Regions from separate parts of the Homo sapiens genome. Here all the other regions are linked to region 1. Evidence: promoter capture Hi-C in 16 types of primary human blood cells and fetal thymus (Javierre and others, 2016). All regions are on one chromosome and are shown on one strand. Each heading gives the region's core, a stretch centred on a gene start or on the middle of the fragment in contact. The rest is flanking DNA. Distances are from core to core; before and after follow the strand shown.

Region 1 (2,700 bases), core at 99-2,598:
GAGGTCGAGGCGTGGGGATCATTTGAGATCAGGAGTTTGAGACCAGCCTGACCAACACAGTGAAACCCTGTCTCTACTAAAAATACAAAAATTAGCCAGTGTGGTGGCCGACGCCTGTACTCGGGAGACTGCAGGAGAATCGCTTGAACCTGGGAGGTGGAGTTTGCAGTGAGCTGAGATTGCACCACTGAACTCCAGGCTGGGCGACCAGAGCAAGACCCCCTGTCTCCAAAAAAAAAAAAAAAAAAGTCACCTCCCGTGCTCATACTGTCTTCCCCAGGCCCCTTCTCCTTACCTACATTACTCTGTATGGCTAGTAAGTTCAGCATCTTTTATCATTATTGCACCTTATAATCATTAGCTTGCACACCTGACTCTCTGATTAAAACGCTCTTTGGAGACAGGGCCTGATCTTACTCATCTTTAATTTCACAAACGTGGCACAATACCTCACGTATAACTGTTGATGCGTGAAATGTTGATCCTTTAAAAAAGAACATTATTCCCACAATATAAAATAAAACCGAAAACCTCAAAATCCCAAAGGGTCCTCCTTTAGCCAATCCTGCCTGCAGTTCAATGACGTCCAGGGCCGACAACAGAAAATGAGGAAGTCAGAGGATTTTCTGCTTCTTTTTTTTTTCTTTATTACTATTTTACTTTTGAAATCTTGAGGAGGGAACTAAGCCCGAGAAAACTGAAGTGACTTGCCCAGGACGGCACCTCGTAGCTAGCCTGGGACCGGACAGGTCTGGACCCTGGTCTATCCCTTGGGTCTACCCCGCAGGCAACACTAGGGCAGCGCCTTTCCACGAAACGGGCAGAGCCCGCGTACCCAGACCCCCAATCCCCGGGACACGCCCTGCGCGGTCATCCTGCCACCTCACTCTAGGCCGTCTTCCCCAATCTCGGCCGAGCCTGGGCGGCGAGAGGCGCTGGGTGGGGCTCCCCCTACCGCGGCCCCAGCTAAGGCGGGAGGCCTCGGGGGTCCTCTCCGCCGCCTCGGACCCCGAGGGGGCGCGAACCAGGGGCCTCCCCGCCCGCCGCCCGCCGCCCCACCGGGACGGCTCTTCCGGGTCCGAGCTGCCGGCAGCCGCCCTGCCCCACCCGCCCGGCCGAGCCCCCAGGAAAATCGCGCCTCGTCTGCAATTAGCCCAGCCCGAAGCCCCCGCGCCGCGGAGCCCCGCACTCACAGCCATAGTGCGGCCGGGCCACGCCCAGCCCGTCAACCTCGTCTGCGGCGGACATGGCGGACGAGCCCGAGTCTCTGCTGAGGAAGCCGTGAAACCTTGGAGGCGCGGACGGCGGTAGCTACAGCTCCTGCCAAGTGCGCGGGCTTGCCGGGGTCCCCGAGGCCCCGCCCCGTGCCGTCAGCCCCACCCCGCAGGCCCCGCCCCAGCGGCACCGCCCCAGCGACACCGCCCTGAGCGGCCGGAAAGAGGCGGGGCCAGAGTCACCGTGCCCCGCCCCTAACTCCGCCCCCTCAGCCCGGCCCCGCCCTGCATCCCGCTATGGTCTCCGTAGGCGGAAGGAAGAAGGTAGAGCCCATCCTCCAATCGGGCTCACGCTGAGCTTGCCCTGCCGGGAATGCCCGCCCAGGTTTATAGCCCCGCCCCCAAGGCCACTGCCCTATCCGCAACTCTAACCGAAAGGCTGCCGGTGTCTGCTGCCTGAAATCAAAATAGTGGGTCATCTCCCTTCTCTTGCCGGCCCAGCTAACCTCTGCACCAATATTTGGAGAAGACACCCTTTGAGGTGACCCAGGTTGTCTTGTTGGACACAAGCAGGCCCCAAACTGCCATGAAAGCCCTCCAACCCCACTCTCCGCAGTTTGGCAACCTGGCCTCAGTCCTCTTAGATTCGGCAGCAGTCACCAGATTACCCAGGTACCCAGGTATTTGAGATGCGGATGCTAAAGCCGAACTCTGTCCAAATTCCCTACCTTTGGATCCCTTGACATTGTTCTTTGCAAGTTCTTTTTAAAATAACTCTTTTCCCGTATCAGGGATGCCTCTGCCCCCTGCACCTTGTGGCTTGCCCTTCAGATATTGGTATTCAACGGTATTCTGTCCGCAGCCCTCTTCTGTTTATTCTTTTTTCTTTTCTTTCTTTCTTTTTTTTTATTTTCTTTTTTTTTTGAGACGGAGTCTCGCTCTGTCGCCCAGGCTGGAGTGCAGTGGCGCGATCCGGGCTCACTGCAAGCTCCGCCTCCCGGGTTCGCGCCATTCTCCTGCCTCAGCCTCCCGAGTAGCTGAGTCTACAGGCACCCGCCACCGCGCCCGGCTAAGTTTTTGTATTTTTAGTAGAGACGGGGTTTCACCGTGTTAGCCAGGATGGTCTCGATCTCCTGACCTCGTGATCCACCCGCCTCGGCCTCCCACAGTGCTGGGATTACAGGCGTGAGCCACCGCGCCCGGCATTTTTTTTTTTTTTTTTTTTTTGAGACGGAGTTTTGCTCAGTCGTTCAGGCTGGAGTGCAGTGGCGCGATCTCGGCTCACTGCAACCTCCGCCTCCCGGGTTCAAGCGACTCTCCCGCCTCAGCCTCCCAAGTAGCTGGGATTATAGGTGCCCGCCACCACGCCCAACTACTTTTTTTGTATTTTTAGTAGAGGCAGGGTTTCACCATGTTGATCAGGCTGGTCTCGAACTCCTGACCTCAGGTAATCCACCCGCTTCTGCTTCCCAAAGTGCTGAGATTA
Region 2 (2,700 bases), core at 60-2,559, 430 kb before region 1:
TTGTGTTGTCTTACACGAAAAGCTTTAGTTTCACAAGGGCCCACGCGTGGCTCTTCCTTTGGCTTCTGGGTTTCGTGTTATGCTCAGAAGCTCTTGCACTGAGATGATTCAGCTGCTGCCTCAGACGTTCTGAGAAACAACGGCCACAACACTTGCAGCGGCAGCAAAACATGCTTATTCAAAAGAAAATGTTTATTTTAAAAAGAAGAACTATCACCCCCCAGCATTTATTTAAATATTAATAGAGACGAGTAAAAACTTCAAATGGTATAACAAGAATAACAGCTTTATAGTCACAGATGGTCAGATGCTGACAAACAAGAAAGAGGGTCTATGTACATTGAGATTCGGTTGTTATGAGAATGCATATGAAGGCTTAAGAAACGGTCTATTTATAGGCTTCGGTGGAGCCATAATCCCCAATTTGCTATTGGCTCCTGATGTCGCTTGAGAAGTATGTGAGGCTGAACTGGATCCAATGATGCTGGAGGATTTCGTTTTGGAAGATATCTTTCTACATGTGGCAGACCCCCTGAAATGTGACAAAGAAAAAAATCAAAATGTTAAATGAAACCAAAAATGAATGACCTTCCTCTCAACCTGCACAGAGCTACAATACCACTTCCCTGGGCCTAATGTGTCCTTGTGCATTTTCTGCCTACGAGCCCCCTAGGTAAGGTAAGTTTCCTTTACTACTTATGGAATAAAGGACCGCGGCCCTTCATATAAATTTGTTCTGGATTTGTCTTTCTGAAATGTGCAGGACTGTTTCTTAATTTTCTGACTTGTGACCAACCCACCGCCCCTCTCTCCACCCACACCTTCGGCAGCCTACAACCAGAGCCTGCAAGAGGAGCTGAGGTCCACATGTCCTCATCTATTCTGACCAAATAAAAGAAGTGAAACACCTTGCTGTAAGGCCCCAGCTCCCTGCTGACAGGCACCCCGGAATGACTGGACTTGCACAGTCCAGAGCAAGGCAGCTGTGGGGTGAGCATGCATGGGGTGGAGCTGGGTGGCCAGGAGTGGCAAAGCTGGGCGTCTTCCTGGCCAGCCCCAGGAAGCCCCAGGAAGGCTGCAGATGCGGCCTTCTGTTAGGACCGTGTCCAGCAGCTCCCTGGCTCACCTGCCTACACCCAGAGATCTGCCAGCTCTCCCTCCCACTCGCTGCCTTCTAAAGCCAAGGAAGAAGCCGCCAGAGCCGATTACCAAGTCCTTCCAGCATCTCACTTTCCTTGCAGACCTTAAGATAACAGCTCCCTTCCCACCCTTAAGTAAAATAAAAACAAACAAAACCATGGGGCCGGCATGTTTACAGTGATGGCTGTGGGCAGCATTACCCGCAGAAGCCTTTCCTGCTGCTCTGTAACCGGCTGATGTCAGGCCCCACACTAATTCCACGGCACCAGGGCATACAAGTAGCCTCCCGTCTGAATTGAGGGTATAGGGCCACAGCCTGTGGGTAATGACATTCTGATGGAGCTCCATGACTTAAACTCTGGCTCCAAGGCAGTTTTACTGCAGAACTGGCAGAGATCTGCTAGACTGGCAGAGATGCAGCCTGAAGTTTCCCTATGCTGATTTCCTGCTGAGAAATTAAGCCCAGAGAGAAAACCTGCTGTTTATGTTGATTTACAGAATGAATCGGCCAACAGCAGCCTCCATTTCACCTGGGCCATCCATTTACTCCCACTCAGAGAGCCCAGAACACAACTGGTTCATTGTGTGTTGTTCTGAAGATGTGAAACTCTGAGGGTAGGGTGGGGAGGTGAGGTTGCTGGCAGAGAGCCACATTTATTCTTTCACTGCACAGGGACTCTCAATCCGGGGAGCACACTGGGTCGGTGGAAAGGAGAGTGGAGCAAAAAGAGGCTGCTCCAAGGGTAACACAAAGTCACACAGTGCACTGGCTTTAGCTGGTAGGGCTTAAAAAAGAATCCCATCTTGGCTGGGCACAGTGGCTCACGCCTGTCATCCCAGCACTTTGGGAGCCAAGGTGGGTAGATCACCTGGGGTCAGGAGTTCGAGACCAGCCTGGCCAACATGGTGAAACCCCATCTAAAAATACAAAAATTAGCCCAGCGTGGTGGCGTGCACCCATAATCCCAGCTACTTGGGAGGCTGAGGCAGGAGAATAGCTTGAACCCGGGAGGCAGAGGCTGCAGTGAGCCAAGATGGTGCCACTGCACTCCAGCCTGGGTGACAAGAGCAAAACTCCATAACGACAACAACAACAACAAATCCCATCTTAAACACCCAGGCTCACTGAAAACAAGCATGGAAATGGGTACAAGTGTGAGCTTTACTGCTTCTTATCAGATTAGGTTCCAGATGATGCTGCAAAGTGCTTCACTCTTACAAACAAAAGTTGTGAAAATTAAATAAGGGAGCCAATAGCAATATGGTTTGCTTTGTTCTAATACATAAAGATGAGATGGAAGACCATGCGTGTTTTTTAGGAGTCTCCACAGGCAACATGCAGAAGTGAACGTGCTCTGGGCAGGTGTGGGCAGGCCAGTGTCCGCTTCTACCTTTGAAATCGAGACCAGGCAGGGTTGTCCTCCGATAAGCCCTCCCCAGGCCAGGCCTAAGCTTCCTCTTCAAAAACCCTGGGTGTTGAGCCAGATGCCTTTTAAGGTCTCCGGCTCTGTGTGAGTTACTGAGGAAATGAGTATTTCCCAAAGTGGAGGAATAAATGAT
Region 3 (2,700 bases), core at 145-2,644, 510 kb after region 1:
TGTTGCTCAGGCTGGTCTTAAACTCCTGGCCTCAAGTGATCCACCTGCCTCGCCCTCCCAAAGTGCTGGGATTACAGGCATGAGCCACCGCGCCCGGCCATGTTTCAGGTTTATAAAATAGAGATATGAACATGGATGGTGGTGATGGTTGCACATTATGAACGTTATCGAATGCTACTGAATTGTACACTTAAAAAATGGCTATGATGGTAAATTTTATGTTACGTGTATTTTACCACAGCTTAAAAAAAGAGAGAGGAAGAAAAGCCAGTGCAACACCCTACAAACTGGAACACTAGCTCTTTGGGAACAAGGACCTGACATCAGAACAAGAAGGCTATAAGTTCCCAAACCTTAAAAGTATGATCTTTTTCAAACTGCATCCATTTCTCACGTTGAAGATGTGAAACCCAATCCCGTTCCTCTTTATGTGTGGGTCTGTGATCTTGCCTTTTCATACTGAGCATCTAAATTTCTAAATACAGTACTTCCTATTGCTTCAAAGTCTTCTAACTTTCTTCATCAAGTGAGCTACATCTAGCTTCATCTTCACTCTTAATACCCACTAATTTCCATATATATGACATTTTGGTCCTTGTTTCCCAAAGTCATAGTTCAGCAGACGGGGAGTTTGCCCAGTTTTTCTTGCCTTGACTTTTTTCCTCTTGTTCAGCAAATTTCACTGGATTTCCAGCTGCTGTGTCATAATCCCTAGGTACAGCTGTTCTGTCTCTGCCAAAGCTGTTGCTTGCAGGGCTCCCATTTGAGCTGCCATAGCTATCTGAGTTACTGGCATTCCTGATGCCAACAGGGCAGCAACATTGAGAACAAAATCTCTAGTAACTGGAGCTATTTCTTGTTTTTGTTTTTCAATGATTTCTTTTTCTTTTAAAAAATTTTTTCCCAACACCCATCCCAACTATTTCTTTTTCTTGCTGTTCTTGTAATTTCTTTGCCTAGTCCATCCTCCCAGCTAAAGCTTCTTATGCATCCTTTGCTGTGCCTCTGCCTCTGAAGAGAGATGAACTGGAAATCTGGCTTAAACTTCTGCTAAATCTTAGTTTCTCAATGCTCTTCTTTCTCTCTTGTCTTCTGCTTCCTGTACTACTTCTGCTTCTTTCCTATGCATGTCATATTTATTTATTTACTTATTTTTCACACGCAACACAGATGTAGTTTTTATCTTGAACAGGAGCAAGATCTGATCCATGGTTTTCTTTCTTTCTTTTTTTTTTCTTTCCTTTTTGGAGACGGCGTCTCACTCTGTTGGCCAGGCTGGAGTGCAGTGGTGTGACCTCAGCTCACTGAAACCTCCACCTCCTGGGTTCAAGTGATTCTCCTGCCTCAGCCTCCCAAGTAGCTGGGACCTCAGACATGCATCACCACGCCTGGCTAATTTTTGCATTTTTAGTAGAGACAGGGTTTTGCCATGTTGGCCAGGTTGGTCTCAAACTCCTGAATCTCAGGTGATCTGCCTGACTTGGCCTCCCAAAGTGCTGGGATTACAGGTGTGAAGCACCATGTCCAGCCCATGGTTTTCTTTTCCTGCTTCTAGATCATGATCGTTCTTCTCTCTGCTTCTGGATTGAGACTACTTCTTTTCCCTCTACTACGATGATGCCTTTCACGAGACCTGTATCTTGAGTGACTTCTGCTTCTTGATGGCTTTCTTTGTGTTTGTGTCTGTCCTCATCATTTTCAGATGAATGTATTTATTTATTGAGACAGCATGTCACTCTGTTGCCCAGGCTGGAGTGCAGTGGCACAATCACAGCTCACTGTAACCTCTGTCTCCCCGGCTCAAGCTTCTCACCACAGCCTCCCGAGTAGCTGGAATCACAGGCACACACCACCACGCCTGGCTAACTTTTGTGTTTTTTATAGAGACAGGGCTTTGCCATGTTGCTCAAGCTGGTCTCAAACTTGTGAGCCCAAGCAATTTGCCCACCTTGGCCTTCCGAAGTACTGAGACTACAGACGTGAGTCACTGCGCCCAGCCCATTTTCAGATGAATTTAGTCCCTCTCTTCCTTTATCAGAATAATGTTCTTTGTCATTATGCTCCTCAGAAGTGTATTTCTTAGAGGATTTGTTGTAGGATTCCTGTCTTCTTGCCTCATCATGAAATAGGCTTATTATTTTCCTACCTGAGTCTGCAATGTCTTCAGTTCAGCCTCTTTGCCCATCAGCATGCGCTTTGTGTTTTCGTCCTTCGTTTTCTTTCTTGTTTTCTTTCTCTTGACCTTGATTGTGATCTTGAATAATATTTTGAGTAAGAAAAACAGATGCATCTGACAGTTCTTTTTCCACCCACTATCTGGGGATGTCTTTTTCTGGGGCTAGTCCATCTTGTCCTGGATAACTACCCTATCTTGAGAACCCAGTCTTAGTTTCATGAAACATCTTTAATGAAAACAGCCTTTTGGGATGGTGCTGCTGCAAACTGTGGTCTGGCTCTCCTCGCATGTGCTCTGGCTGCCGCAGAACAGAGCTCAGGCCGCTAGGGGGCACCTCCACGTGCCGCTTTTAGCAGTACCAGCCACCTCAAAGCTTTGCCACAGACTGAATAGCTCCTTCCGGGGGCCTGGATGGCACCCAGGGGATCTGCCGTTGCTTTTTTAATTTATTTTTTTACATTTAGCTCATTAATATCTGTTAGATATTTTTATGTCTGCATTGAAATATGTAACTTTATTTTTCC
Region 4 (2,700 bases), core at 184-2,683, 350 kb before region 1:
AAATTGCTACACTCCTGTCACTAAAAAAAAAAAACCTACTAAGAAGAGTTCAAAATTCAGTTGCATTTCTTTCTTCAGATTAAGGGTACATAATTAAAGTACTATATTCAAAAGTTACTTGATTGGTCAGTCCCACCTCACCTTCAGGGTGATTACATTCATCATTTGAATTAGATTAGTTTGTGTTTGTACTGTTCTTGTGGATTTGATTTTTGAATATATAAAACATTTACATAGTTCTAAAAGTTAAAACTACATAAAAGACTGTTTTTCCCCACAGAGAAGTGTTCTTCCCTCTCCATCCTTTGCCATCTACTTCCTGTGGGTTATCAATTTCAATAATTTCTGATTTATCTTTCCTGTTTTTCTTTTTGCAAAATAAGCAGACATTAGAGTCTCATATTTTCCCTTCTTTCTTACATAAAAAATAGCACACTGTATGTACGCTTTCCATTCATGTTAGAAATCACTCTACACCCGTTTGCAAAGATTTTCCTCATTCTTCTTTACAGCTGTACAGTACTCCATTGTGTAGATATTTACCAACAAATTTCCTGTATGGACATTTAAGGTATTCCCTGATATTTTACAATTACAAATAATGCTGCAACAAATAACTTTGTGCATTCATATTTCCCTACTGTTGAAAACGTAAGGCCGGGCACGGTGGCTCACACCTGTCATCCCAGCAATTTGGGAGGCAGAGACAGGATTGCTTGAGTCCAGGAGTTCAAGACCAGCCTGGGCAACATGGTGAGACTCCGTCTCTATAAAAAAAATTTTTAAATTAGTAAGGCGTGGTGGCATGCACTTGTGGTCCCAGCTACTCCAGAGGCCAAGGTGGGATCAATTGAGCCTGGGAGTTTGAGCTGCAGTGAGCCAAGATCACACTACTGCACTTCAGCCTGGGCAACAAGCAAGACCCTGTCTCAAAAAAAAAGGAAAGAAAGAAAAGAAAATGTATCTTTAGGGAATATTTCTACAAGTGGAATGGCTGGGTCAAAGGGCAAATGCATGTGTAGTCTGCTGGATTGCCAACTTCTCCCTCAAAGGAGGTTTTACAAGTTTGCATTCCTCACAGCCTCACCAATGGGGCTTCTTGTGAAGCTTTCTAATTAGTGCAGAGCTGATAGGTGAGAAACGGTATTTCAGTGCAGCTTTAAATTTACACTTCCTGTTTAGGTGAAATTGAATATTTTCTTCACATATTTAAGGATGGTTTTTGAATCTTTTTAAAAAATTGTATCTGCTCATGTATTCTGCCTTTTTAACCAAATTTTAGTATTTTTTTCTCTCAATTTAGACTAGGGATAGTAGGTCTTTAAAATGTATTTTGCAGATTTTTTTCCTGGTTTCTCATCTATCTTTTAAATTTGCTTATGGTGTTTTTCATTTTTGTAATCAAGAATTTGCTTTTCAATGTAGCCAATTTTTCCCCCTCTTTTATTGCCCTTCTCCACATCCAGGTTACAGAAAACTCATCTATGTATTCTTCTAGTAGGTAATTTAAAAAAAATTAGATTTCTGGTTCATTTGGAGTTTATTCCTGTGTCTGATATAAAGTATAGATATAATTTTGTTTTTTCAAGTGGCTAACAAGTTGTCCCAGCACTATTTATAAAGAGTCCATCTCTGCCCTAATAATTTCAGAACTACCTTTATCATACACTAAATTCTTCATGTGTTTAGGAGACTAATTATTGACTTTCCATTCTATACCATTGGTCTATACCACAATATTATCATGATAGAAGCTTTGCAACATGTTACAATATCTGGAAGTCTACTTTCTCTTTGTAGCTCTTCTGTTTTCCTATTCTTATATGTTTATTTTTCTATATGAACTTTAGAATCAACTTGTCTAGTGCCAGAACTCTGTTGATATTTATATTGAGATTGCATTAAATTTATATATTAACTTAGGTATATGTATTAACTTAAATATATATATATATATATATATATATATATATATATTAACTTAGGCACTTTTATGATGTTGTTGTCCTGTCCTAGAACAAAAGATTTCATTTGTTTAAGGCTATTTTTGTTATTCAGAAGTGTTTTAAAGATTTCTTCACCTAGGTTTTACATGTTTTTAAATTCCTAAATATTTTCTCTTTTTCTTGTTGCTGTAAATGGGATTTTACCCTTCATTATATATTCAAACTTGTTGTGTATATGAAGACTACTGATTTTTGCATATTCTTATAAAATTCCTTTTCTGTTTAGTTAGTTTCATTATTGATTTTCTGCAGTATTCCAGACACACTACCATATCACCTGCAAGTAGGGACAATATTACTTTTTATTTTCCAAATCTTGTGCCTCTAATTGATTTATCTAACTGCATTGGCTAAGCCCCCAGTACAATGTTAAATACAAGTGGAGTTGGTGAGTATCTCTATATTTTTCTCAATCTTAGTAAAAATGCCTCTAGTATTTTCCTATTAGATAAAATACAGGATTTAGGAATAAAGTCTCTCTCTCTCTCTCTCTCTCTCTCTCTCTCTCTCTGCGTGTGTGTGTGTGTGTGTGCGTGCGTGCGCGCGTGTGTGTGTATGTGTGCGTGAGAGACAGAGACAGAGAGAGAGAGAGAGAATACCATCATTAAGAAGTATTGATTGGCCAGGCATGGTGGCTCACATCTGTAATCCCAGCATTTTGGGAGGCCGAGGTGGGCAGATCACCTGAGGTCAG
Region 5 (2,700 bases), core at 10-2,509, 480 kb before region 1:
CCCACCTACCCACTTGTCCTCAGGCCTAGAAGAAAGGTCAGCCCAGAAAAATAGCAATACTTGCTGCTTCAGGTGCCCCACCCATCCTGGAGACTGGCCCCAGGGGAGCCCGCAGTGGGTCTTTGGAGGGGGAGGGGCTAGCCTAGGCTCAGATGACTGCCACCCAGGCAGAGGCGGTGGGAAGTGGAGCTTCCCAGTTTCTTCCAGCCAGCTTGCCTCTTCAATCTGCATAAGGCAAAATTCTTTAAAGTGGGTTCTCAGAGGTGCCTCCCTGAGAGGGAGGAATGAGGACAGGATTGGGCAGTTGAGCACCTCTCTCTGCTTCACCCAGAGTGTCTCACATTTTAGGGTTTCACATGAGATTGTATTTTACAACAATTCTGCTGCTAAAAAGAATTTGAAAGCCACTCTCTGTGAGACTTCTCTGGAAAAAAATCCCATTTGACCACAACTGGTGACTTCTGCCTTTATCTCATTGCAACAAGTCCTGTGGGCAGGTATTGTTCTCTTTATCACTCTCAACTGGCCCTGGAGCCCAGGTCTCCTGACCTGGGGCCCTAGGGGCCCAAGGTCCTCTGGATCCCACCTTACCAGTTTTACACAGCAGTTAGCAGGACTTGGGCATGTGACAGAAGTCTGGAGATGAGTGAGAGGAGCAGGGCCTGATGGGTAAGTGGGGGCTGTAAAGGGGCTCCATTTTCCCAGCAGGGCTCTGGGAGGAAGAGTCCAGCTAGGCCTCTCTTTATCCTTGATTTGGGGCTAATCCAGAGAGGCTCCTGAGAATCACATAGTCCTAAATCCACCCAGTCATCCTGACTCCAAGCACTCCTGTTGTCTCCTTGGGGTGCTCTGGGAGTCTTCTCTGAAATCTCTGGTCCACCTCAGGCACAGCAAATAAAGCCTTCGGCAGCAGCACCCACACCTAGTTGTAAGCAGAATGTCTACACAACATTCAGACGTGCATAGAAGGGTGCACAACAAAATTCCATTGGTGTTCTCTCCGAATGAAAGGGTCACATTTGCGATCTTTGTTTTCTTCTTTTTGCCTACCTGCATTTTTCAGGAATGTCTACAAGAACTCCTAAAATAATTAAACCTTTAAGTCAATGCAAAATCGAATAAAGCATGTCCATACTTCACCATCCAGCTCCAGAGCACCTGGGATTCATCCTGGCCGCTGCTGCTTCCCCGCCACTCACTGCAGCTGCAACAGTCAGGCTCCTATCCCTTCACAGGGCGGGGCCCTTCCAGTTCTGGCTAAACCACTTTGGGAAAACCTTCTTTATATGACAGGCAAACAGGGTGTCTGTGGGTGGGGGGAGGAGCTAAAAGTGATGTGGTGGTGACATATCTGGTCGCACTGGAACTGGATCCTAACATGGCCAGCCAGCCCTTCTCATTTTCCTCATTTATTGGGGTGGGTCTGCACTTACCTTCTGCCTGGCTTTGCTGCATCCCAGCCACTGGCTGACTTAATGACTTCCTTCCGCCAGCTCCAGCTCCTTGTGTTCTGCCTTGCCTTCCATGGCCAGCCAGTGCTGCCACAATTATGTACCTAATAAATGCTTTGGGTGCAGTCTCGCCTGGCAGACATTCATTGAGCAGCTGCTGAACGCTGGGCTCTGGTGCCCCATAGCTGGGTCCCTTAGAGCTTGTCCATAGGAAGCCAGAGACCACCTCTCTAGTAGGGTTGCATGGAGGTACCTGGGACACACCAGGGTCTTCCTCAGTCTGCGACCTCCCTGGCCTTCCAGCTTCAACAAGCCTGCTGCCCATCCTTCTCTCTCTCGATTCAGAAATGTGAATCACTCAATCCTCATAGTTTTTTTTGTTTGTTTGTTTTATGGGTTTGTTTTTTTTTTTTCTAGACAAGAGTCTCGCTCTGTTGCCCAGGCTGGAATGCAATGGCCTGATCACAGCTCACTGCAACCTCTGCCTTCTGGGTTCAGGCGATTCTCATGCTTCAGCCTCCCAAGTAGCTGGGATTACAGGCTTACGCCACTCGTATTTTTTTTTTTTTTTTTTGTATTTTTAGTAGAGATGGGGTTTTGCCATGTTGGCCAGGCTGGTCTCGCACTCCTGACCTTAAGTGATACACCCACCTCGGCCTCCCTAAGTGCTGGGATTATTAGGCGTGAGCCACCACGCCCGGTCCCCTTGTTGAGTTTTCAATCAGTTTGTCATCCTGAACAGGGTTTCTCAACCTTGGCATTATCAACATCTTGGGTCGGATAATTCTCTGTAGGGGACACTGCACTCTACATTGCAGGATGTTCAGTCGCATCCCTAGTCACTAAACATTAGCTGCTAGTAGCATTCCCGCTCCCATGATGACAACCAAAAAGATCTCCAGGTATTGCCAAATGTCCCTTGGGAGACAAAAATCTCTCCCAGCAAAGAACCACTGTCGCAGAATGAGGAGTGGGAACGTCACAGGATGGTGGTTAGTGTGCCAGGGTTCGAGGCAGCAAGAGTTGTCTGCTGGGAACTAAGCTCTGAGACAGCTAGCAGTGAGGGAGAAAACTCCCAAACTTGAAACTGCCCAGTATGCCAGCACAACAATGGGCCGTTTAGTGATCAGGGCAAACAATCATGCATCCTCATGACATCTGAGATCACTTTCCATCGTGTTGGTGATAATGCTGAATCAAGGAAAGGATCAATCATGTTGATCATACTCCATTTTCTAAGGTGGGGAGG

Evidence for each region. The method cuts DNA at HindIII sites, captures the fragments that hold promoters and counts their contacts. A CHiCAGO score of 5 or more calls a contact.
Region 2: a contact is called between a fragment that was not itself captured here and the fragment with the promoter of IQGAP1 in region 1, in 2 of 17 cell types (monocytes and total B cells). The highest score is 5.4, in monocytes.
Region 3: a contact is called between a fragment that was not itself captured here and the fragment with the promoter of IQGAP1 in region 1, in 1 of 17 cell types (monocytes). The highest score is 5.4, in monocytes.
Region 4: a fragment that was not itself captured here is called in contact with the fragment with the promoter of IQGAP1 in region 1 in 1 of 17 cell types (total B cells); the score reaches 6.4 in total B cells.
Region 5: the fragment with the promoter of FURIN here is called in contact with the fragment with the promoter of IQGAP1 in region 1 in 1 of 17 cell types (fetal thymus); the score reaches 5.4 in fetal thymus.

Annotation. Positions count from the first base shown.
Region 1 is chr15:90,386,890-90,389,589 of GRCh38, reverse strand. IQGAP1 (IQ motif containing GTPase activating protein 1) reads right to left here and starts at 1,348. Exons shown (of 38, transcript NM_003870.4): 1 at 1,194-1,348. The coding sequence starts at 1,248. RefSeq lists a silencer at 845-1,624. The HindIII fragment of the contact is 8,546 bases long and covers 1-2,700 here.
Region 2 is chr15:90,812,934-90,815,633 of GRCh38, reverse strand. BLM (BLM RecQ like helicase) reads right to left here. Exons shown (of 22, transcript NM_000057.4): 22 at 1-532. The coding sequence ends at 355. Among named protein-coding and RNA genes, the nearest start is that of FURIN, 54 kb to the left of the region's middle. RefSeq lists a silencer at 848-957. The HindIII fragment of the contact is 2,570 bases long and covers 25-2,594 here.
Region 3 is chr15:89,874,966-89,877,665 of GRCh38, reverse strand. The region is part of intron 7 of ARPIN-AP3S2 (ARPIN-AP3S2 readthrough); the gene reads left to right. All of the region lies in intron 3 of AP3S2 (adaptor related protein complex 3 subunit sigma 2), which reads left to right. It also overlaps the pseudogene LOC100631255. Among named protein-coding and RNA genes, the nearest start is that of MIR5009, 7.7 kb to the left of the region's middle. The HindIII fragment of the contact is 826 bases long and covers 982-1,807 here.
Region 4 is chr15:90,734,514-90,737,213 of GRCh38, reverse strand. The region is part of intron 1 of BLM (BLM RecQ like helicase); the gene reads right to left. Among named protein-coding and RNA genes, the nearest start is that of BLM, 19 kb to the right of the region's middle. The HindIII fragment of the contact is 647 bases long and covers 1,110-1,756 here.
Region 5 is chr15:90,867,147-90,869,846 of GRCh38, reverse strand. It overlaps FURIN (furin, paired basic amino acid cleaving enzyme), which reads right to left and starts at 1,259. Exons shown (of 16, transcript NM_002569.4): 1 at 1,136-1,259. RefSeq lists enhancers at 1-88, 26-135, 1-168, 236-285, 1-727. The HindIII fragment of the contact is 27,514 bases long and covers 1-2,700 here.